4 separate regions of the Homo sapiens genome follow, and regions 1, 3 and 4 are each linked to region 2. The links are contacts of gene promoters, found by promoter capture Hi-C in blood cells and fetal thymus (Javierre and others, 2016). All regions are on one chromosome and are shown on one strand. The core of a region is centred on a gene start or on the middle of the fragment in contact, and the rest is flanking DNA. Distances in the headings are between cores, read along the strand shown.

Region 1 (5,731 bases), core at 2,007-4,506, 880 kb before region 2:
GGTCTAACATTGCCCTCCTTTGTATGAAAAATTTAAAAATATTTGTTTGACTATAGTTTTTAAGTCTCTTTCATCTTCTGTAACCAAATTCTACTTTTGTGTTGGTTTTTCAGAGGGGAGAGGAATACTTCAAGATTTTCTAGGTAGAAGAAGGACATAAGGATGACTCAAATTGGCTGCTTCCTCCTTTTAAAAAACAATCAATTCTGTACTAATTTGCACACAGTATGGATAGTTTATATAATTGCATAAATGTGATCATTTTATGTATTTCATTTTTATGACATATTTGCTTAAAATGATCTGTGTAAGTCATAGGGTATAATATCTAAAATGATCACCTGTGAACCTTCCATCAGGGTTTCTTTTTAACTCCTTGATCTCTTTATTGGTTTTGTTCTGTATGTGTTGGTACTTGTACATGTTTATTTCTGTTTCCCTTGATGCCATAATAGAGTGACAGTTTTAGACATTGGAGTCCCATTGTTTTCCCTGAGTAGGTTCATAGTTCCATGTCATTGCAAATCATTAAGGTCTACATTGAAGTGTACTTATGTTCATAATATGCTCATATTAGCTCTCCACATTTGTCCATTCTTTCTGCCACTCTTTGTCTTGGACATTGCCTGTAATCTCTAACCTGGATCATTCAGATTTCTCATAATCCAATATTGATTTTCTTATAATCCAATATTGTCTTGTTCCAAATTATTCCCCTTTTTATTAGAGTTGTATTTTTTATGATGTATATCTGATCATGTTACTTCTCTATCTAAAGTATGCATTCTTAGCAGGGTGATATTGACCCTAAGGAGGCAAAAATTGATTTTGGAGAAATGAAAATCTTAGGTTGTATAATGGTTTTTAGTCCTCCAAAGGGCCATAGAATATAAACAGATATGCACTATATCTATCATATTTAAATTTCATGATGGGGAGGATAAATAATGAAAAAAATACTGAGAGATACTATTCTATAGAGACTTCCTCTTGTCCTTAAAATTAATTAATTTAGGCTTTCAGAACCCATTACGATCTGGACTTAGTTTATTGCTCTGGTCACATTTCTTTTTTTTTTTTTTTTTCTTTCTTGTTTTTTTGGAGATGGAGTCTCAGTTGCCCAGGCTGGAGTGTAATGATGTGGTCGCAGCTCACTGCAACCTCCACCTCCCGGGTTCAAACGATTCTTCTGCCTCAGCCTCCTGAGTACTGCTGGGATTACAGGCACCTGCCACCACACCCAGCTAATTTTTTTTTTTTAAGTAGAGACAGTTTTCACCATGTTGGCCAGGCTGATCTCGAACTTCTGACCTCGTGATCTGCCCGCCTCGACCTCCCAGAGCGCTGGGATTACAGGCATGAGCCACTGCCCCCGGCCCGCTCTAGCCACATTTCTCATGACTTCCCTCTCCTTGAATGGTTTCTGCCAAACTGAATTTCTTCAGTTACATAAATTAAAAGCACATACAGGATAATATGGGAGAATGTTTTCATTACGTTTGGGTAAAGATTTCTGAAACAGAACGTAGAAAGTAGCCAAACCTAAGAGAAAGATTGATTAAAAAAAAATGGATTTCATTAAAATTAAGAACTTCCATTGATTAAAAGACAGCACTGAATGACATGCCAAGCCACACAGTAGAAGGAGATATTTTTCATACTTATATTCGACGAAGGACTTTTACACAGAATATGTAAAGAATACTTAAAAATGTAAAACACTTATGAAAAATAACAACCAAAAATAGCAAAATACTTGAAAGGCACTTTAAAGATGATATTCAAGAGGCCAGTAAACATATTCAATTTACTGCATTCATTCTGCATTATTAGTAATCAGGAGACATGCAGGTCAGAACTACAGTGAAATACCACTATAATTACCAGAATGACCACAGTTTAAAATACTGACAGTACCAAATATTGGTGAGGATCTGAAGCAACTGGAAGTCTCATACATAACTTGTAGGAGTATAAATTAGTACAGTTCCTTTGAAAAACAAGCAGTATCCAGTATAGCTGATCTAATATGGTTGATGTATACACCATGGTTCAGCAATTCAAGTTCTGACTATATACCCAACAAAAGTGTGGACATAAATACACTAAAAGACATATGTAAGAATGTCCGGAAAAGCACATTTATAACCTACAATTAGAAACTCTCTCCACAGTAGAACAGATAATAAATTGTAGCATTATGTATACAGCAGTATATAGCATCAGAGAAGATAGAACCATTGCTTCACTCAGCAACTTCAGTAAATCTCACGAATGATGTTGAGTGAAAGAAGACAGAAAGCAGTATGTATGGTTCTATTTCTATATGAAAGTTAAAAGCAAACAATATAAGGTATTGGAAGTCAGAATATTGTTACTTTTTAGTTCTGCACTTAGGAGTTGTGTTTTCTGTATGTCTGCTTCGATTAAAAGTTTTCCTAAGGAAAAAAAAAAAAGGATAAGACTTAATGGTTCAAAAGGAAGACCTTGCCGACTGAGGTGTCTGAGCGCTCAGCATTGGGAAATGGTCGACTCGTGGGTTGATAAAAAGAATTTACAGACAACAGTATAGGTTTGAAAAAGGAAAGTTTATTAGAAAGAAAGTATGCTGCAGAAGAGTGCAGAAGGGTGCTGAGCGTGCCACAGTGGATTTTTCCTTAGGGGTATTTATGGACCTTAAAGCTTGAGGATAATTTGGACCATATTAGCCATGTAGGTAACAATAAATGATTACATTTGTAGTAATTTTGGTTCCTTAATGTCAGCAAGTGTTGCACAGTGAATTTCGACATGGCATTCTGGAGATGTATAGAAATTCTAGTTACTTACAAAGTTTTTTTGGGGAAAAAATCTGGAACCAATGCCTGCTTTAGATAATAGGGAAGTCTGATTACTTCTTGGGTTTTGTTGTTGTTGTTGTTGTTGTTGTTTTTAATATGGAGCCTTGCTCTGTCGCCCAGGCTGGAGTGTAGTGGCGCGATCTCAGCTCACTGCAACCTCTGCCTCACAGGTTCAAGCGATTCTCCTGCCTCAGCCTCCTAAGTAGCTGGGACTACAGGCTCATGCCACCATGCCTGGCTAATTTATGTATGTTTAATAGAGATGGGGTTTCACCACACTGGCCAGGCTGGTCTTGAACTGCTGACCTCAAGTAATCCGCCCGCTTCAGCCTCCCAGAGTGCTGGGATTACAGGCGTGAGCCACTGCGCCAGGCTGGGAAGTTTAATTACTTCTGATTTTCCCCAGATAAGGAATTTTGCTTCTAGATTGCCTGTTGGATAGTCATCGGGTGGTTTTTGCTCCTTCTGCATTCCTCAGATAAGGAATTTTTGTCTCTAGGGCCTGTTCAGTGGTCACCAAGTGATTTTGCTCTCCTCAGATCTCAGCCCATATTTTAAACTGTTTCCCAATTTAACTATCTATTGAAATCACCATTGGAATTTTTTTTAGGGGAAAAATTCTTTATTTGTCCTGGGGGAAGAAAAAACAAAAAATGTTATTCTTGAGGAATTTTTGTGAAACTCTGGATGGGGATAAGACTGAATTCAGGGATGGATTGCCTAATCCAAAATTTATCGTGTGCAGAGGGGAATATAAAAAGTCACTAGGACGATATAAGACCCATATACAACTCTGTAGCTTGGGCAGCAGACCTGGAAGAAGAGGCAACTTGTGGGACTGCCTAATTGTGCAACTAATTAGGCAGTAAAGCTCGATCCTGAAATGTCTTGAGGAAATGCCTTCTGTGCTAGATCTCACAGGCAGCTGGGACAGTGTAGTAGTATCTACTCCTGCCTTTCTCTTAGCAGCAAGACCTGTAAAGAAAAGCTCAAGCTTTGCTGAAATAACTTCTAACAACAACGCCTGTGTTGGTTAGAGGGCGGGAGCACAGTGCATGCTGTTAGAGCAAATGCAAAAATTAAATCCCTATAGTAGGTGATGATGCTGCAGTGATGGCTCTCCACCTAGGTGATGATACTGCAATGATGGCTCTCCACCTAGGTGATGATACTGCAATGATGGCTCTCCACCTGTTTCTCACAGTTAACCTGAATCCATAGCTGAGATTAACTGTGATAAAGAAAAATCACTAACAGATGAAAACTTTCAGTGATTCGGAGAATTGTACCTAAGAAATCTAAACAAATATTTCCTTTAAAATGTCACAGAAAAAAAAACAAGGTAAAAAATTGTAAGGAGGGAATAATTTGAATTCCAGAAACGTTATCTTCAGATAGTAAACATGATTCCTGAACTGAATGGGGGAAAATGGTGGCACACAGCAGATTGAGTATTGCAGGTTAACCAGATCTGTAAGTAACACCGTTTAGTTAATCTTTAAGAATAAAGGGCTAAAAAGATGAACATGAGGTAAATGGTAAGAGAGAAGAAAAATCCAAAATATTCTATTTAGCTGATTGTAGACAAAGAATTAAAATTAAAATTCCTTCTACTTGAAGAATAACTCAAGTTCTTAGATTAAAATACCAGACCAAATTAAACAAGAGAGTAGAGGGAAGCCACATCTAGATGTGTTCTGAGAAAAGATAAGACTTGACAAGTTTTCAATTAAAACACATGCACACAAATGTACACAAAACACCAAGTCAGCAATACCTGAAGAGCAGAGAAACAGCTATAACAGGAGGAATGTGGTTACTTCACATTACTTTGGTGCATTAGATATCTTGGACAACACTTGCACTGAAACTACTAAAATGCTGGATAAGCTTTTTATTTTATTTATTTTGAGATAGGGTCTCACTCACTCTGTCACCCAGACTGGAGTGCAGTGGCATGATTGCAGCTTACTGCAACCTCAACTTCCCAGGCTCAAGCGATCCTCCCATCTCAGCCCCCCGAGTAGCTGGGACTACAGGAATGTGCCACTACACCTGGCTAATTTTTGTTTTTTTGTTGTTTTTTGCTTTTTTGTTTTGAGACGGACTTTTGCTCTTGTTGCCCAGGCTGGAGTGCAATGGCATGATCTCGGCTCACCGCAGCCTCAACCTCCCGGTTTCAAGTGATTCTCCTGCCTCAGCCTCCAGAGTAGCTGGATTACAGGCATGCACCACCACACCTGGCTAATTTTGTATTTTTAGTAGAGTTGGGGTTTCTCCATGTTGGTCAGGTTGGTCAGCTCTTGACCTCAGGTGATCCGCCTGCCTCGGCCTCCCAAAGTGTTGGGATTACAGGCGCGAGCCACTGCGCCTGGCCCACCTGGCTAATTTCTTAAAAAAATTTTTGTAGAGACTGGATTTCACTGTATTACCCTGGTTGGTCTTAAACTCCTAGGCTTAAGCGATCCTCCTGCCTCGGCTTCCCGGAGTATTGGGATTACAGTGGCGTGAGCCACTGTACCTGGCCTGGATAAGCATTTTAAAGTGCCATTTATTTATTTAGGACAGAGTCTGGCTCTGTCGCACAGGCTGGAGTGCAGTGGCATGATCTTGGCTCACTGCAGCCTCCACCTCCCAGGTTCAAGTGATTCTCCTGTCTCAGCCTCCTGAGTAGCTGGGACTACAGGCACGCACCACCACTCCCAGCTAATTTTTGTATTTTTAGTACAGACAGGGTTTTGCCACGTTGGCCAGGCTAGTCTCGAACTCCTGACCTCAGGTGATCCGCCTGCCTCAGCCTCCCAAAGTTCTGGCATTACAGGGGTGAACCATCGTGCCCCACCTAAAGTCCCTCTTAAAATGTAAAAGAGTTGGTGCAAAACTGAGGAATC
Region 2 (6,028 bases), core at 1,387-3,886:
AAGGTAAGAAGATGTCAGAAATTTATTGAATAAAAACAAAAGCTGCCCTTTCTTGTGTGCCTACTTGGTGCCAAACATATATCTAATAAAGTGATTTAGTGCTTTATATGTGCTGCTACGTCATTTAATCTTTAACAACTCTATGAAACGTGATAGTCATCTTATAGATGAATAAACTAAAGCTCAGAAAGGTAAAGTAACTTGATCAAGGTCACATAGTTAATCAGAACTCAAGTCTTTTTAACTTGAAAGGGGAAGCGTTTCAACGACCAGGTATCTCTGGAGGGCAGAAGACTGATTTGCAAAAAGGAAAATTCTTGTTACTGATATTACAAAAGGAAAGATTGCTTTTGAAAGATGTGTCAGGAAAGACTCACCAGTTGTGGAGGTCCAGAAAGTACACACTTTGGAAGCCCGGTTTCCTTTAAAGTAAGAATCATTCCTAAAAAGGATGCATAAAATCAGATCTCTCATCAATTTGACCTGTCGTCACTAACAGGAGGAGCACCCCGTACTAATCCAACTATTTATCTACATCTCCACCTTCCAGCTTTGGAAGTACAACCAGGGAAGATGTACAGAGCAGAAGTGATGCCAGCTAGAGGTGTAACAGACACCAAATATTCTTTAAATGCCTCTAGAATGGGCTGAGCTGTCACTAGGGTGAAGCAGCAAGGCACCCAGTGTGCAAAATGTAAGGAATCATGCAAGTGAAGGGCTGGCACCCTAAGTGCCTCACCCTAGTCTCAGCCCTGAGAAGGGAGACTGGTCTAACACTTCACTCCTTCCGGTCCATGCCACCAAGCCCACACAATTTGGCTGCAACACAATCCTGACCTTCCGGTTGATAGACATAAATGACAGGGTAATCTGGACAGTGGGTATGTGTGTGGCTGCCAATGTGCCAATGGCGTCTGCGGTAAACATATTAACTGTAATCACCACTGCTAGACTCTCCAGTTTACTGCCACAAATCTCTGTCCCCGCAACGCAAGAAACTAAGTGGATGGTAACACTTAAGAGGTGGTATCCATATTAAAATCTGTTCTCCTGAGTCACAGCTTTTAATGCTCTGTGCTGCTGCTGACTGGGCTGGTATAAAAAGAATTCCAGGCCAGGTGCGGTGGCTCATGCCTGTAATCCCAGCACTCTGGGAGGCCGAGACAGGAGGATCGCAGAAGTTTGAGACCAGCCTGGGCAACATAGCAAAACCCCGTCGCTACAAAACATACAAAAAAAATTAGCCAGGTGTGATGGGGCACACGTGTGGTCCCAGCTATTTGGGAGGCTGAGGTGAGGGGATCACCTGAGCCCAGAAGGCAAAGGTTGCAGTGAGCCAAGATCACGCCACTGACAAAAAAAAAAAAAAAAAAAAAAGTAGCTGCCCACCCCAGACTTGGAAAAATGGTAAAGCCGGTTAAAATCCCAGAGACTTCCCACCAGCCTCTGACACTGCAAAGAATATACTCACCACTTAAGCCCCCAACATTAGACCAGTGCATTCGTGTCAGGAATATGTTGTCCAGGCGAGCAACCTTTAACCTAAGAATGAAAAAACATTTAAACAGGATAACATGAACAGAACAAGGACCACTTTTGCTATAAAAAACAACTGGCCTCTCATTTCGGCTTTCAAGCCCCGTAATCAACTCCCCCTCCGAAAGCAAGAGACTGACTCACTTGTGCTCCTGCATGAGTCTCTGAACGCCTTCTCCACAGTTGAAGAGATACCTACAAGACAAACATTACACAAGACATTCAGAAGGTTTTATTCTGTAAACTCTCTGACACCAATTAGATGTTTTATTGTAGACTCTGGAAAAAAAAAAAAGAAAAAAAAATTAAAAGTCCACGTTGGACTACCGAGCCACATTTATGCTGGTGGGTTTTGAGCCCTCCTTAGCAGAGGTGGAGAGGAGTGGGGGCCTGTGTGTGTGGGTGCTAGGACAAAATGAGTCCTTTCTCCACCACCGGCTACACACCAGATCTGTCCACCCCACACGCTAACAACGACACACTGGCCTTGGGGTGCACGGAAGAGGGTGGAGCTCCGAAAGTGCTGACAGCCAGGCCGGGGCCCAAGGGTTGGGAAAAGGACGCTCAGACCCAGGCCTGAAGTTCTTCACAGATCCGCAGAAATCACATGGATGCAAAGAATCTCGGATTTCCCACCCACCATAACTCCACGAACCCCCGCAACAGTGAACCACATGTGTGAAGCAGGGAAGCCGAAGCCCTGGGAGGTGCCCCGATGCTCAGAGGCTGCGCCGCACTGAGGGCCCAGCGGGACGGGGCGTGGCTCGTTGACTGACCGGTTGAACTCGGAGAAGACGTAGAGCGCGGCGCCCGAGTCCCGGCTACCCGCTGCCACCACCTGCAGGTACACGGTGTTTGGGCCGCCGGAGCACCCCGACGGTCCGCGCTTCTCTCGCGTGCGCAGGTGCCGCAGCGGGTCCTTGCGCGGCCGCTCGCGGCGGGCGGGTGCCTGCGATATGGTGCGTCCCTGCGACATGGTGCGTCCGGCCGCGGACCGCAGCAGCGAGCAAAGCGCCCACATGCGCCCGTCTCCACCAAAACTGAGAAAGCCGCCGGTCACCTACGCCCGCGTTTCCCGTGCACCACCTAGCCGCTCCGCATGGCGGATCCAGCCAATCAGCGCGCCGTGCACCGAGCTTCCCGCCTACGCGAGGCTGCTCATCCAATAGAAAGGAGCTTTACCGCTCGGGACTTGTCAATTGACAGTGGCCATAGAGTAGAGGAATACTAGAGCGTCTCAAGCGGCCCCGCCCCTAGTTCTGTTCCGGTTTGCCGGCCGCAATTTTTTCCGGAAGCTGTTTTTCTCCTGGGGCGGGACTTCCGGAAGCACAGTGCCAGGAAAAGCCTTCCTGGGGAAGGCGGGACCTAGGAGTTTGGAGTTTCGCTAAAACGCTCCTGTTCTCACCAGATAAGAGCTGTGTCCTCCGGGCACGTCAGTCCCTCAGAGCTTGAGTTAGAGGTGGTTGTAGTGGTTGTGAGGATTAAATGTGAGGAAATCAATTGTATTGAGCATTAGCATAAGCGCTTTGCTAATTTTATTTCCATTGTAATTCGTATGCATACATGTTAGAACTTGATCATTTTTACGTGGTGTCCCGAGCTTGTAGTCCCAGCTACTTGGGAGGCTGAGGCAGGAGAATCGCTTAAGCGCGGAGGCGGAGGTTGCGGTGAGTCGAAATCGCGCCACTGCACTCCAGCCTGGGTGACACCTCGAGACCCTGTCTCAAAACAAAACAAAACAAAACAAAAATTGTAGTGTTTTTTGGAAAGAAAAGCAAGAATAGAGGACAAGCTCTAAAGCAAGAGTCTTGGCTCATTTGTTAGCTGCGTGATCTTGACCTCTCAGAGCCTCAGCTTTCTTATGTGTAAAATGTAATAACAGCAATAACAGTATCTCCTACTTCAGAATATAGAATTCAGTCACCTGATAATATATCAATAGACCTTTGAGTGGCACTGTCACAGAAGAGGCACCCAGTAAATGATAGAAAATTAATACAAAATGTTTCAACTCCTAGACAATATAGCTGACCAGGGACATCACAGAGGTAGATGTCCCAATACCAGCTTTTTGAAAAAAACACCCAGTCCCCTCTTATGTAGCTAATGAGGATTTCTCACTGAAAGGGATATCAGTTAAAGCCGCTAGAAATACAGGGAGCTCCCTTAAAAGAGGAAGATAATTTACCTGGAAGCTCCACTCAAATATGATTTTTTAAAGATAATTTACCTGGAAGCTCCACTGACATATGATTTTTTTAAATAAATACTGAAAGATGTCACTTTTATTCAGGAAGTAAGGGAGATTCAAGTCATGTAGATTCCTACTCGAAAATCTTGACACCTGACTTTCCAGGATCACATTTTCATATGGAGACCAGTTTCCTCTTGGTTTCTTCAGTTAAGTCAAAACTACACGTTCCTCTTTCCCCATATATTTTTGCTCATTAGTGTATTTCTTGAGCTGTTTTCATTCAAATATGAAATTTTTTATGGAAGATTATCACCCACGGTGTGAAAACGTTTTGTACTTGAAATAACCATCCCAGTGAGGGTCAGGAAAACACTTCAGATCTACTTTACACAGTTAGAGGGCGTTACAAACTGAAAAGATTATCATACCACCATCTCCATAAGTATTTGAAATAAAAATGATAGTTTTTAAAAGTTGCTTAAAGCCTGGGCACCGTGGCACATATCTGTAATCCCAGCACTTTGGGAGGCCAAGGCGGGAGAATAGCTTCAGGCTAGTAGTTCAAAACCTGCTCTGTGGCCAGGCATGGTGGCTTATGCCTGTAATCCCAGCACTTTGGGAGGCCGAGGCAGGTGGATCACCTGAGGTCAGGAGTTCGAGACCAGCCTGGCCAACATGATGAAACCCCGTCTCTACTAAAAACACAAAAATTAGCCGGGAGTGGTTGCATGGGCCTGTAATCCCAGCTACTGGGGAGGTTGAGGCAGGAGAATCACTTGAACCCCAGAGACAGAGGTTGCAGTGAGCCAAGATCACACCATTGCACTCCAGCCTGGGTGACAGAGGGAGATTCCATCTCAAAAACAAACAAACAAACCAGCTCTGGCAACAAAGCGAGACCTCATCTCTACCAAAAAATACTAAAAAATTTAAAAATAAGTAAAAATTAGCTGGACATGGTGGCACACACCTGTTGTCCCAGCTACTCTGAAGGCTGAGACAGGAGGATCACATGAACCCAGGGGTTTGAGGCTGCAGTGAGCTATGATCATACCACTTTACTCCAGCCTGGCTGACAGAGTGAGACACTCTCTACAAAAAAAAAAAAAAAAAAAAAAGAAAAAGAAAATTAATTCATTAAAACTACTTTTAAAAAGTGTAGTGCAATAAATAAAATACTGATTTTTTTCCTGTGATGACTGCTTTGATCCTTTTAAAAAATATATCAAATTTCACAAACAAAAATACATTGGTTCCTCTATTTTATTGGTGCCCTATGTGCATATCTATCTGTTGGGTAATCTCAAACTACTTATCTCAAAATTATAGGAGGAATCACTTTTGGTCATCGACTTATATAAAATTCTGAGGGCTGGATGCTATTTAGGTTGTTTCTAGGGCCCAGTGTACTTTCTGCACTTATGCTTTGGGTCATATTTTTATTCCTGGTATATGAAGACAATAGCTAGTACTTCTTCAATCTGAGGTTATACTGGAATGTAAATTTCATGAGCCTGGGATTTGTCTATCTGGTCCTCTGCTGTATCATTAGCTCCTAGGACAGAGTCTGGCTTGTGGCAGACAATAAATACTAGGAAATTAGAAGCAAGCCAGTAGCTTAAATGAGGTTTTCAGTTTACAACTAAGCAGGGCCTAAAATTGAATCAAGACAACAATGTATGTGTTTTCTGAAGGGGATTGGTGTGACTGGTACCTCCAAAAGGATAGTTCAGAGAGTCTGAAACAGAAAAGTGTCTCTGGACTTGCTGGAGTAGAGGCAGCCTGACCATCGGGACAGCAGAGAAAGTGGAAATCGAGGCGACAGACTTTCAGAAGTCAGTGATATTAACAATTAATATAATACAGCCACTTCCTCTTGCTTTGAGTCTCTTTTTGTTATCCATTTTGTATATGGGCAGCTTGTGGCTTGAAATCACTTTCAGTCCTTTTGTTGGTCACGGTTGTGTTTAGTAAGAATAGCCTGTCTCTGCTCCTTGCAGTGGCTGCTGGGTGGCTCAATGGGAGTGGAACCTCACACTCACAGGTGTGGGTCCTGGGTACTGGCCCTGCTGGGGGTGCTTTGGTTCATTTCCCATTGCCTCTCCATCCATGTAGACTGTCCACATTCAGTAGTTAGGCTGAGCTTCTCTGAATGGTGGTCAGCCTCCAAAAGGATGAAATGAAATTGCAATGCTTCTGAAGAATTAGGCCCAGAAGTCAACGCAAGACACAGACAGCACCCACCTAGATTCAAAGGGAGGAAAATTATATTCTACCTCTTGAGGGGAGAAGTATCAA
Region 3 (5,819 bases), core at 565-3,064, 850 kb before region 2:
TATTTCTGGACTCTCAAGTTTACTCCATTTATTGATATATTAGTCCTTGTACTAGTACCACATTGTCTTGATTATCATTGTTTTGCAGTAGGTTTTGAAATTGGGAAGTATGAGTCATCCCCCTTTGTTCTTTTTCAGGATTATTTAGTGTATTGGTCCATCTTATGTTGCTATAAAGAGATACTTGAGGCTGGGTAATTTATAAAGAAAAGAGGTTTAATTGGCTCAAGGTTCTGCAGGCTGAACATAAAGGAAGCATAGTGCCAGCATCTGCTTCTGGTGAGGCTTTAAGAAACTTATAATCTTGGCAGAAGGTGACAGGGAGCAGGGAGCCAGCATGTTCCATGGCAAAGGGAGAGCAAGAGACAAAGGGGGAAGGTCCCAGACTTTTAAAAATAGCCAGATGTCATGTGAACTCAGAGTAAGAGCCCATTTATCACAAAGAGGATGGTGCCATGCCATTCATGAGGGATCCACCCCCATGATCCAATACCACCCACTAGGCCCCACCTCCAATATTAGAGATCACATTTTAACATGAAGTTTGGAGGAGGCACACATCCAAACCATATATTTTTCCCCTGCTCCCCCTAAATCTCACATCCTTTTCACATTGGAAAATACAATCATTCCTTCCCCAAAGTTCTTCAAAATCTTAAAGCATTCTAGCATCAACTCACTCAAAAGTTCAAAGTCCAAAGTCTCATCTGAAACTGAAGTCAAGTTTCTTCCATCCATGAGCCTGCAAAGTCAAAACCAAATTATTTACTTCCAAGATGCAATAGTGGTGTACAGGCATTGAGTAAACATTCCCATTCCAAAAGGGAGAAATTGGCAAAAAGAAGAGGGTACAAGGCCCCATGCAAGTCTGAAACCCAGCAGGGCAGGCATTAAATCTTAAAGCTCCAGCATAATTCTTAACTCTGTATCTTGCATCCTGGTGCAAGGGATGGGCTCCCAAGGCCTTGGGTAGCTTCATCCCTGTGCCTTTCCTGGGCACAGCCCATGTGACTGCTCTCGTGGGTTAGAGTTGAGTGCCTGCAGCTTTTCTGGGCTCAGGGTGCAAGCTGCAAGTGGACCTACCATTCTGGGGTCTAGAGGGTGGTGGACCCTTCCCACAGCTCCACTAGTATGGACTCTGTGTAGGGTGCTCCAACCCCACATTTCCCCTCAGCATTGCCCTGGAGTTTCTCTATGGGGGCTCCAACCCTGTAGCAGGCTTCTGCCTGGGCACCCAGGCTTTTCCATACATCCTCTGAGATCTAGCTGGCAGATGCCAAACCAAGATTTCCTTCATTCTTGCATTCTGTATTTCTACAGGCTTAACACCACATGGAAGCTTCCAAGGCTTATGGCTTGCATGCTCTGAAGTGGGAGCCCAAGGTATACCTGAAGTCCTTTGAGCCACAGCTGGAGCTGTAGCAGCAGGGTTATGGGGTGCAGCCTCTTGAGGTAGTGTAGAGCAGCAGAGTCCCAGTCCTGAACCTTGAAACCATTTTTTCCTACTAGGCCTTTGGGCTTGTGATGGGAGGGGCTGCCTTGAAGATCTCTGAAATGCCTTTGAGACTATTTTCCCATTGTCTTGGATATTAGCAGTTTGCTCCCTTTTAGTCATGCTAATCTCTCTAGCAACTGGTTGTTCCACAGCCTGCTTGGATTCTTTCTCTACCATAAGGCCAGGCTGCAAAATTTCTAAATGTTGACACTGCTTCCCTTTTAAATATAAGTTGCAACTTTAAGTCATTCCTTTGCTCCCACATCTGATAATAGGTTGTTAGAAACAGCCATACCACTTCTTGAACACTTTGTTGCTTAGAAATTTCTTCTATGAAATTTCGTCACTCTTAATTTCAAATTTCCACAGATCTCTAAAACATGCACACAATGCAGCTGAGTTCTTTGCTAGGGCATAACATGGGTAACTCCAGTTGATAGGGCATAACTCCAATAACTGGAGTTATTTCCTCATTTCCATCTCATCAGCCTGGACATCACTGTCCATATTTTTTCAGCATTTTAATCACAATAATTTAATCAGTCTCTAAGAAATTGCAAACTTTCCCTCATCTTTCTATCATCTTCTCCAAACTCTTCCACCTCTGCCTATTACCAAGTTGCAAAGCCACTTCCACATTTTCAGGTATCTTTGTAGCAATGCCCCACACCTTGGTACCAATTATCTGTATTAATTCATTCTTGTGTTTCTATAAATAAATACCTGAAGCTGAGTAATTTATAAAGAAAAAGTTAATAAAACTTCTTTATAAAACTTTATAAAACTTATAAAGAAAAGCTTAATTTGCTCACAGTTTTGTAGGCTGTAGATGAAGTATATCAGCATCTGGTGAGGCTCATCAGCTTCTGGTGAGGCCTCAGGAAGCTAAGAATCCTGGTGGAAGGTGATGGAGAGCCAGCATGTCACATGGCAAGAGCAGGAGCAAGAGAGAGAGAGAGAGTCGGAGAGGTCCCAGACTCTTAAACAACCAGATCTCATGTGAACTCAGAGCAAGAGCACATTTATCACAAAGGGGATAGTGCTAGGCCATTCATGAGGGATCTGCCCCATGATCTAACACCTCCCACTAGGCCCCACCTCCAACACTGGAGATCTCATTTCAACGTATTTGGATGGGACACACATCATATCCTTTGGCTATGCTAGATCACTTGCAATTTTATACAGATTTTAGGATAAAATTTTCAATTTATACAAAGAAGTCAGCTGAGATTCTTAGAGGGAGTGTGTTCATTCTTTAGATCAGTTTGGGAATCAGTTTATCATTTTAACAATGTTAAGTCTTCCAATCCATAAATATGGGATGTTTTTCCATTTATTTAGGTCTTCTTTAATTTCTTTCAACAATATTTTATAGTTTTTAGGGTATAAGATGTGCACTTTTTTGGATAAATGTATTCCTAAAGATTTTATTTTATTTATTGTTTATTTTACTTTTTTATTTTATTATTTCATTTTATTTTATTGAGACAGAGACTTGTTCTCTCAACCAGGCTGGAATGCAGTGGCATGATCTTGGCTCACTGCAACTTCTACCTCCTAGGTTCAAGCAATTCTTGTGCCTCAGCCTCCCAAGTAGCTGGGATTACAGTCATGCATCACCATGCCCAGCTATTTTTTTGTATTTTTGGTAGAGATGGGGTTTCACCATGTTGGCCAGGCTGGTCTCGAACTCCTGGCCTCAAATGATCCTCCTACCTCGATCTCCCAAAGTGCTGGGATTACAGGCATGAGCCACCACATCTGGCCTTATTTTATTTTTTGATGCTATTATGAACAGAATTATTAGGTCCTTCCTTCCTTCCTTCCTTCCTGCCTTCCTGCCTTCCTTCCTTCCTGCCTTCCTGCCTTCCTGCCTTCCTGCCTTCCTTCCTCCCTTCCTCCCTTCCTTCCTTCCTCACAGTATCACTCTGTCACCCAGGCTGGAGTGCAGTAGCACAATCAGCTCACTGCAGCCTTCTCTTCCCTGGGCTCAAGAGATCCTCCTGTCTCAGCCTCCTGAGTAGCTGGGACTATAGGCATGCACCACTACACCTGACTAATTTTTTTTTATTTTTTGTAGAGACAGGATTTTGCCATGTTGCTCAGGCTGGTCTTGAACTCCTGGCCTCAAGTGATTCTCCATCCTCGGCCTCCCAGAGAGCTGGGATTACAGGTGTGAGCCACTGTGCCTGCCCCAGAATTGTTTTCTTAATTTCATTTTCAGATGTTCACTGCAAATGTATAGAAATACAATTGATTTTTATATAGATACTGTATCTTGCAACCTTGCTGAGTTCATTTATTAATTCTAATTCTTTTTTCAAAAAGTAGATTAATTCATATTTTCTATATACAAGATAGTTTACTTCTTCCCTTCCTATCTGGGTTTTGTTTTGTTTTGTTTTTGTTTTTTTTGAGACAAAGTCTAGCTAGACATAGTCACCCTGACTAGAGTGCATTGGTACCATCTTGGCTCACTGCAACCTCTGTCTCCTAGGTTCAAGTGATTCTCCCACCTCAGCCTCCTGAGTAGCTGGGACTCAAGGTGCACGCCACCACGCCCAGCTAATTTTTGTATTTTTTGGTAGAGATGGGGTTTCACCATATCAGCCAGGCTGTTCTCAAACTCCCAACCTCAAGTGATCTGCCCGCCTTGGCCTTCCAAAGTGCTGAAATTACAGGCATGAGCCATTGCATCTGGCCTTCCTTTCCTATTCAGATGCCTTTTATATATTTTTCTTGCCAAGTTTCTCTGGATAAAATCTCTGGTAAATGTTTTAGTAGAGATGGGGTTTCTCCATGTTGGTCAGGCTGGTCTCAAACTCCTGACCTCAGGTGATCCGCCTGCCTCGGCCTCCCAAAGTACTGGGATTACAGGTGTGCGCCTCCGTGCCCAGTCATGTTTGTTTTTTTTTTAATACCATAAAGGCATGCTGGATTTTGTCAAATGCTCTTTGGGCATCCATTGGCATGATTGTGTGATCTTTATTCTATTGATATGTATGACATTAACTGATTTTCAGATACTGAAATAACTTACATTCCTGGGATAAATCCTAGTTAGTCATGGTGTGTAATTCTTATATGTTGCTGTATTTGATTTGTTAGCATTTTGTCAAAAATTTTTGTGTACGTATTCTTAAGAGATAAATAGTTTTATTTTCTTGTGACGTCTCTGTCTGGTTTTGTCATTTTATTCTAAAATAATTTGGGAAGTGTTTTCTCCTCTTCAATTTTCAGAAGAGTTTGTGAAATAAAGAATTGGTATTAATTCTTATTTAAATATTTGGTAGAATTTATAGGTGAAGCCCTCTGGGCCTGATATTTTCTTTGTGAGTAATTTTAAAACTACTAACTCAGCCTTTCTAGGTGTTATGGGTCTATTCAGATTGTTTATTTCTTCTTAAATTAATTTTGGTATTTTGTGCCTTCCTGGGATTTGTTTATTTCTTTTTTTGGGCATATAATCATTAATTAGAATTCCTTTCTAATACTTTTTATTGTTGTAAGTTTATAGTCCTATATCCTCTTTCATTCCTGATTCTAGAAATCAGTCTTCTGTATTTTTATTAGGGTCAGTTTAGCCAAGTGTGTTAATTTTATTGATGTTTTCCTAGAACAAGTTTTTTGTTTTATTGATTTATCTCCATTGTTTGTCTGTTCTCTATTTCATTTATTCTTGCCCTGATCTTAATTATGTTCATACCTTCACTTGCTTTAGGTTCAGTTTGCTCATCTCCTAGGGTCTTAATGTATAAGATTAGGTTATTGATTTGAGATCTTCATATAGGTATTTACAGCTATAAACTTTTCTCTGTGTATTGCTTTGGCTGTATCCCATAAATTGTGTCTTCATTTTTATCATCTCAATGTATTTTATGATTTCTATTTTTATTTCTTCTTTGACCTATTGGTTATTTAAGAGTATGTTATCTTATTTTCACATATTTGTAAGTTTCTCAATTTTTTTATGTTATCAATTTATAATTTATTTCCTTTGTATTCAAAGAATATTCCTTGTGTTATTTCTGTCCTTTCACATGTATTAAAATGTTTTATGGCTTTGTATATGGTCTACCCTAGATAATATTTTATGTGCATTTGAGATAAATGTATATTTAATTGTTGAATAACAGACTGTCTTCTTTCTTACAGAAGTTTTGCAGGTTTTCTTGAATAGATGATTCTTCATTTACTCTTTGCTGTCAGAACATTTCTAGAGGCTGTTTTATTAAAAAAGTAATTTTTACTCCTCCTAACTAAAATGTTGTACACTTTAACCAATAACTCCCCATTTCCTCGCATCTCCCCTGACCTCTGC
Region 4 (5,838 bases), core at 2,413-4,912, 950 kb before region 2:
TCACATACTCTGGTGTTGAAAATATGAGTCTGGTGCCAGAAGTGAAGTTGTAGATTGGAGATAAAAAGTTGAAAATTGCTGCCATATAGATGAAAGGGTTGCCTAGGAAGAGAGTGAGAATGTATTTTGATGAGAAAATTGTGTCCAGGGCTGAGCCCCAAGAAAATCTAACATTTAGAGGTTGGATAGAAGAGGAGGGACAGGCAAAAATTAAAAGATGCTTGATAATTAGGAAGCAAACTGGTAGTGCATGATGTTATAGAAATCTAGCATTGTTTCAAAGTGCAGTTGGGAAGGAATTGTGGTTGGCTATGTCTAATGTTCTGAGAATGCTAGTAAAGCTACCTTGTTGGCAAAAACTCCTGAGATACACTTTAAACTACTCTTAATTTCTTACTTACTTGGGAAGAGGTTTTAGCTGCCACTGGAAATTGGGGCCTAAACAGGGAAAGGATCTCATGAAAACATGTAACCTATAGATTTAGGGCAGTTTTCCTTACCTTTTCTTGAAGAAGCATAGCCCAGAAAAACTGTTCTAAGGGTAAACTTAGAGTACAACTGACACAGGATCAGCTCTTAGGAAACAGTCAATAGCAACATGATGCAAACATGAATGTTTGTCTTGTCCTCTTTAATGTTACTCTTTTCTGTGGTGATAAAACATTTCTTTGTATGTCATAAATCAGTACTACTTCAGAATACTGCAGACTTATCTAATTTGTCTAATACATTCTGTTCACTAAATATGAGTATCAGAATTTGAAATTTTCTATTTAGAATGTTTGAGCCATTCTTCTGGACATTTCATTTTTCAGTTTTTCCTTTTGCCTCATCTTAGATCACAGCAAAGATACTCATTTGTTGGTAGTGCCAGGAAGCAGGCAGTTTCCATGGTAACTGACAGACCGAGTTTACTGTGGAAATTTCCGGAATTAACAGAGCTGCATTGCAGAAGGATGCATAAAGCAGTATTCATCTAGAGATCGTAACAGTACGGACACAGAAGAACAGTTGCAGTGATGTGCAGGGTATGTCTTACCTTTATTTTCCTGTCTAAGGAAGATTAGTCATATATATATATATATATATATATATATATATATATATATATATATATATATATATATATATGCATGCTGAGGAGACAGTAAAACAGCTTGGGGCGTTTTAGTATATGCTGGCTTGATACAGTCAAAGTTGCTTAGGAAAAAGAAGGAAGAAATGATTTGGGAAAGAAGGTATATTTGATAGCATTGGGAAGAAATCAAGATCAGATGATCGAGGTAGAAGAATGTGATAGTGAAATAAGAGGAGAAAACATACTTCAAACTAATTAAATAATAAAAGGTTCTTACGGATAGTGGTTCTAGGCACAAGAAGATATTTATTTATTTATTGAAGGAAAATAGTAGACATTGTCAAGTTTGAGAAATCAAGTTCTCATGTGCAGGAAAAAGAAATCTGTTAAGATAATTAGCTATTACTTGCTGAAAGATAGGTAGATATGAGAGATGTCCAGGATATTAAACAAGGAGGTTTGCTGCCATCTTAGCGTACTTACCTAAGTGATGAGAGAATCCTAGAAGGGTTTCTGCCCCTAATTCCACTCTCTGTTGATTGGTGGGCCATTTTCAAGAAAAATTCTGAAATGTATCTTGAGATTAAATTCTGGAAACAGAACTATAGGATTTGGGCAGATAATTGAAGGTGCTTATCATATAGAGCATAATTATAAATGTAAAAGAGAAAAAGGATATAGAAAATATGATTTAGATTATTTGCATGATAGATGCAATTTAGGTTGCTAGATACCATTTGGTATCATTTATATCATGTAGTCAGCAAACTACAGCTCATGAGCTGAATCCATCCTGTTTGCTTGTTTTTGTAAGTAAAGTTTTATTGGAACATAGCCACACCCATCTGGCTGCATAGTTGCAGGAGACTAGTGGCTTGCAAAGCCTAAAATATTTGCTATCTGGTTCTTTACAGAAAAAGGTTGTGACTCATGATTTAGATGGTGTACTGGATTTTTCAAGGCTTCTGTGAGATTACCACAAACTTGGTGGCTTAAAACAACAGAAATTTATTCTCTCACAGTTCTAGAGGCCAGAAATCTGAAGGTGTTGGCAGGGCCATGCTTCTCCCGAAGGTTCTGGGGGAGGATCCCCCCTTTCTTTCAGCTTCTGGTACTGCTGCTCTTCCTTGGCTTGTGGCAGCATAACCGTAATCTCTATGGTCTTCTTCCCTGTGTCTGTCTTGTGCATCTCTATCTTCTCCTTTTCTTTGTTTGGTCTCCTATAAGGATAGTTATTTTATTTAGTGCCCACCTAATCCAGAATCTCTTTTTTGAGATCTTTAATTTTATCCGTAAAGATAGGTTACTTTCTGAGATTCTGGATGGACCTATCTTTTTTTTGTGTGGTGGGTGGTGTATAGTTCACCCTACTACAGATGGTATTGAAGAACTGGGTTTTGGCTTCTTAAATCACATTGTATATTAAGGATAGCCAGTTCTTAGTGTTTCCTTTGACCTGCTGGAGAAGATATTAAACTCACATTTCAAAGGCAAGGTGATAGAGGCATAGTTGAATCATAGAAGATAGCCTTTGTGACACAAACATAAGCAGTAGAGTAAAGGGAGTACTAGAAAATTCATAGGAGAAAGAGTACTAAAATATTCACTGGAGACGGATGAAGACCAGTGCCTGATGCTTCATATCGTTCTCTTCTTGTCTCTTCATATTTTTCTCACCCTAACTCCCACCTCCAAAAAAACAACAAAATGAATTTGAAATTTTAATGAAAAATGGTTGGCACAAAAACAAAAATCACAGTTTTGAGGAATGGCTCATCGCTAAATTACGGCACTGGGAAATATATATATATGATTCAAAAGAAGTAGACTTAATAAGCAAGTAGAGGAGTGGCAGTGTAGAAGGTACACACCAATGTATAGACCAGTGAACCTGAGATTTGGCTTTTGTTGAGAGCCTTTTTGTCATTGTGGGAGTATACAAACTATTGGCCTGGGCAGGAGAGAAGGTCTGTGACATTTTCCTCTTCTCATATGGGCATATTTGTAAACCATAATAACAGTGGTAGGTATCTATTTGCATTCCCTGGAAGTCTCATTTACTGTATTTGGGTATATTCTGAAATGTTTAAAAAGTGATGAATTCACATGGTGAAGAATCAAATAGTAGGCAAGGGATTCCAATGTAGACGCTGGAGCTGCAGAGAAAAGCCACCTTATATTGCCTATATTCTCACCTGCGCACTTTGAAATGAAGCTTCTGATACAGACTTCATGGAGATGATCATAGAAGAATTAAATAGAAATGGTTAATCCAAATTAGGGTTCACTAAGAGTAAGTAAGCAGTTCCAAACTAGCCTAATATACTTTTTTGAAAGTGTTACTAGGACTGTAGATCAGGAGTTTGGAACAGACTAGGTGTATCTTGATTTCAACATTTATGGGCACAGAGGAGGAACATGAAGCCCAATACAGTATTTTCAGGAAGTTTCTTAGAAGGACAAGAGTGAAGTCTGCGTTTTCTTTCTAATCAAATTCTGTTAGTCTGTGACCATGTATATTCTGAATATCAAATAGGAAGCCATGGGAATGAAAGTTTTCTTATTTTCTTCCTTTAACAAAACATTTGAATTGTATGCCTAAATACCTTCATAGAAAGATACAAATTCCCTTGAATCCAACTACAATTAGACTTTTAACTTTTAATTTTTCTGTTAGTGTCATGAGTATATGATAAGAATATCATAAGGAACTAGAATAAAATCAGGTATAAAGCATAGATTGGGATTAAATTGAGCTGGTTGATCATAGTTCACATGTACAGGCTAAAATTTAAGCAGTATAAGGTACTCATGAATACCCTAGATTTCAGGTCTTTGTGTTATGTAAAATACACATGTTCCTAAATGTGTCTATACATAAAATTTATTTCTATAAAATTGTTTTCCTTTTCTCATCGACATGTTTAAATAAGTGTCTCAAAAATAATAAAAGTAAGCTTGAGGGTGTTTAATAAGTAGGTGTTCAAAACACAACTCACATAGTATTAAGAATTAGCTAACAGATCACAAATGAAAAGTAGTTGAGACTCTTGGTTTTTAATTTGCTTTAAGAACTAAATTTCTGACTTTGTAAAAGCAATCTGAGGTTTGTAGTACAAAATGATATATGAGTAGCAGTGTCCTGCTAAAATATTTATTAAGAAACAAAGATGAAAATATGAAACACTGAAAATTAAGATGACTTAACTCCCTATAGGATCTGATAATGGATACTAATAGTAACACAGCCAGAATAAGGAAAATTTTTACCCAGGGATTCTTTTATAGCAGAGACTTCATCCCTTTTCATGTTCATTTCTTCTCCTGCCCACACTGGTAACTACCAGAAAAAAACTGGGGAGAGATGGGAAGAGGGAGGATGCTGATGAATTTTATCTGGGAAGTGTCATTATGAGTGAAGTGTACTAGGTGGAAGTAGAGAAGGATTGTAGTAACAGTATAGTGCTGCCCAGTATAGACTTAGGATTGTATTTTTATATTGCTGTTATCAGTCCAGAATACAGTATTAGAGACCAAGAAAATTGGAGAGAGGAGAATTTACCATGGGAGCAGTGAGTGCTCTGATTTGTAATATACTAAGCCTTAGATATCTCAAATCTGCCTTTGAACCATAGGCATGTAATGGGCAAATCCGTATCAGACAAGTAGAGTGCAGCCCAAGGATAATCTTCTTTTTCTTTCTCTCCTTCTCTCAGCAGTTTTATTGAGGTATAATTGGCATAGAATAAACTGTACATATTTAAAGCGTATAATTTGCTAGGTTTTGACATATGTGTACATCTGTGATGCCATCACCATAGTCAAGTTAACATATCCGTCATTCCCAGAATTTCTTCCTTCTCGTTGTAGATTTTTTTTTTTTTTTTTTCTGAGACGGAGTCTCGTACTGTTGCCTGGGCTGGAGTGCAGTGGCGTGATCTCGGCTCACTGGGAACCTCTGCCTCCCGGGTTGAAGAGATTCTACTGCCTCAGCCTCCCAAGTAGCTGGGATTACAGGTGCCCACCACCACGCCCAGCTAATTTTTGTATTTTTAGTAGAGACGGGGGTTCACCATGTTGGCCAAGCTGAGCTCAAACTCCCGACCTCGTGATTCGCCCACCTCGGCCTCCCAAAGTGCGGGGACTACAGGTGTGAGCCACTGTGCCTGGCCTCTTGTTGTAGTTTTTGTGTTTAGACATTTGATTTGGTTATTTTTTCTGTCTTCCACGTCTATATTTAACATACTCTATCCATCCTTTCGTTTTTTTAATATATGGAACGTGGTAAATGTTTCATTGTCTTTATTCTAGTATTTTTGTCATTTCTGGTCAGTTGCAATTGATTGATGTTTTTCTCTTCACTATGGGTCATGTTTTTCTGCTTTTTTGTATACTGTGGTAATTTTAGATTGCATCCCAGAGATTATTGTGTGATGGCTGTTTTTGTATTTTCATGAATGTTTTTGAGTTTTGTTCTTTGGTTAAGTTACTTGGAGATAGTTTGATCCTTTCAGGTCTTGCTTTTTAGCTTTCGCAGATGAGACTACTCTAGAGCTAATTTTGCCTTACTAGTAAGGTAAAATCCTTCTAACTACTTTATTGGTTTCCAATCAGGAAGCTTTCCACTCCAGTGGCTAAGAATAGGAGCTGCCTTGTATGAGCCTGGGTATCATGCCTTCTTAATCCTTTTAGGTGGCTTATTCTTCAGGCTTGTATAGGTTCCTCACAATCATCCGCTGATCAAGGAGGGCCCTCTGCAT

Evidence for each region. The method cuts DNA at HindIII sites, captures the fragments that hold promoters and counts their contacts. A CHiCAGO score of 5 or more calls a contact.
Region 1: a fragment that was not itself captured here is called in contact with the fragment with the promoter of ELAC2 in region 2 in 1 of 17 cell types (M2 macrophages); the score reaches 5.5 in M2 macrophages.
Region 3: a fragment that was not itself captured here is called in contact with the fragment with the promoter of ELAC2 in region 2 in 1 of 17 cell types (endothelial precursors); the score reaches 9.6 in endothelial precursors.
Region 4: a fragment that was not itself captured here is called in contact with the fragment with the promoter of ELAC2 in region 2 in 1 of 17 cell types (M2 macrophages); the score reaches 5.2 in M2 macrophages.

What each region holds. Positions count from the first base shown.
Region 1 is chr17:12,130,167-12,135,897 of GRCh38, forward strand. All of the region lies in intron 9 of MAP2K4 (mitogen-activated protein kinase kinase 4), which reads left to right. Among named protein-coding and RNA genes, the nearest start is that of MIR744, 51 kb to the left of the region's middle. The HindIII fragment of the contact is 1,152 bases long and covers 2,681-3,832 here.
Region 2 is chr17:13,015,391-13,021,418 of GRCh38, forward strand. It overlaps ELAC2 (elaC ribonuclease Z 2), which reads right to left and starts at 2,637. Exons shown (of 24, transcript NM_018127.7): 1 at 2,313-2,637; 2 at 1,681-1,731; 3 at 1,472-1,542; 4 at 378-442. The coding sequence starts at 2,557. RefSeq lists enhancers at 1,953-2,453, 1,965-2,074, 2,095-2,154 and a silencer at 2,675-2,754. The HindIII fragment of the contact is 8,738 bases long and covers 1-6,028 here.
Region 3 is chr17:12,164,592-12,170,410 of GRCh38, forward strand. No RefSeq gene overlaps it. Among named protein-coding and RNA genes, the nearest start is that of MIR744, 86 kb to the left of the region's middle. The HindIII fragment of the contact is 954 bases long and covers 1,338-2,291 here.
Region 4 is chr17:12,068,822-12,074,659 of GRCh38, forward strand. The region is part of intron 2 of MAP2K4 (mitogen-activated protein kinase kinase 4); the gene reads left to right. Among named protein-coding and RNA genes, the nearest start is that of MIR744, 10 kb to the right of the region's middle. The HindIII fragment of the contact is 742 bases long and covers 3,292-4,033 here.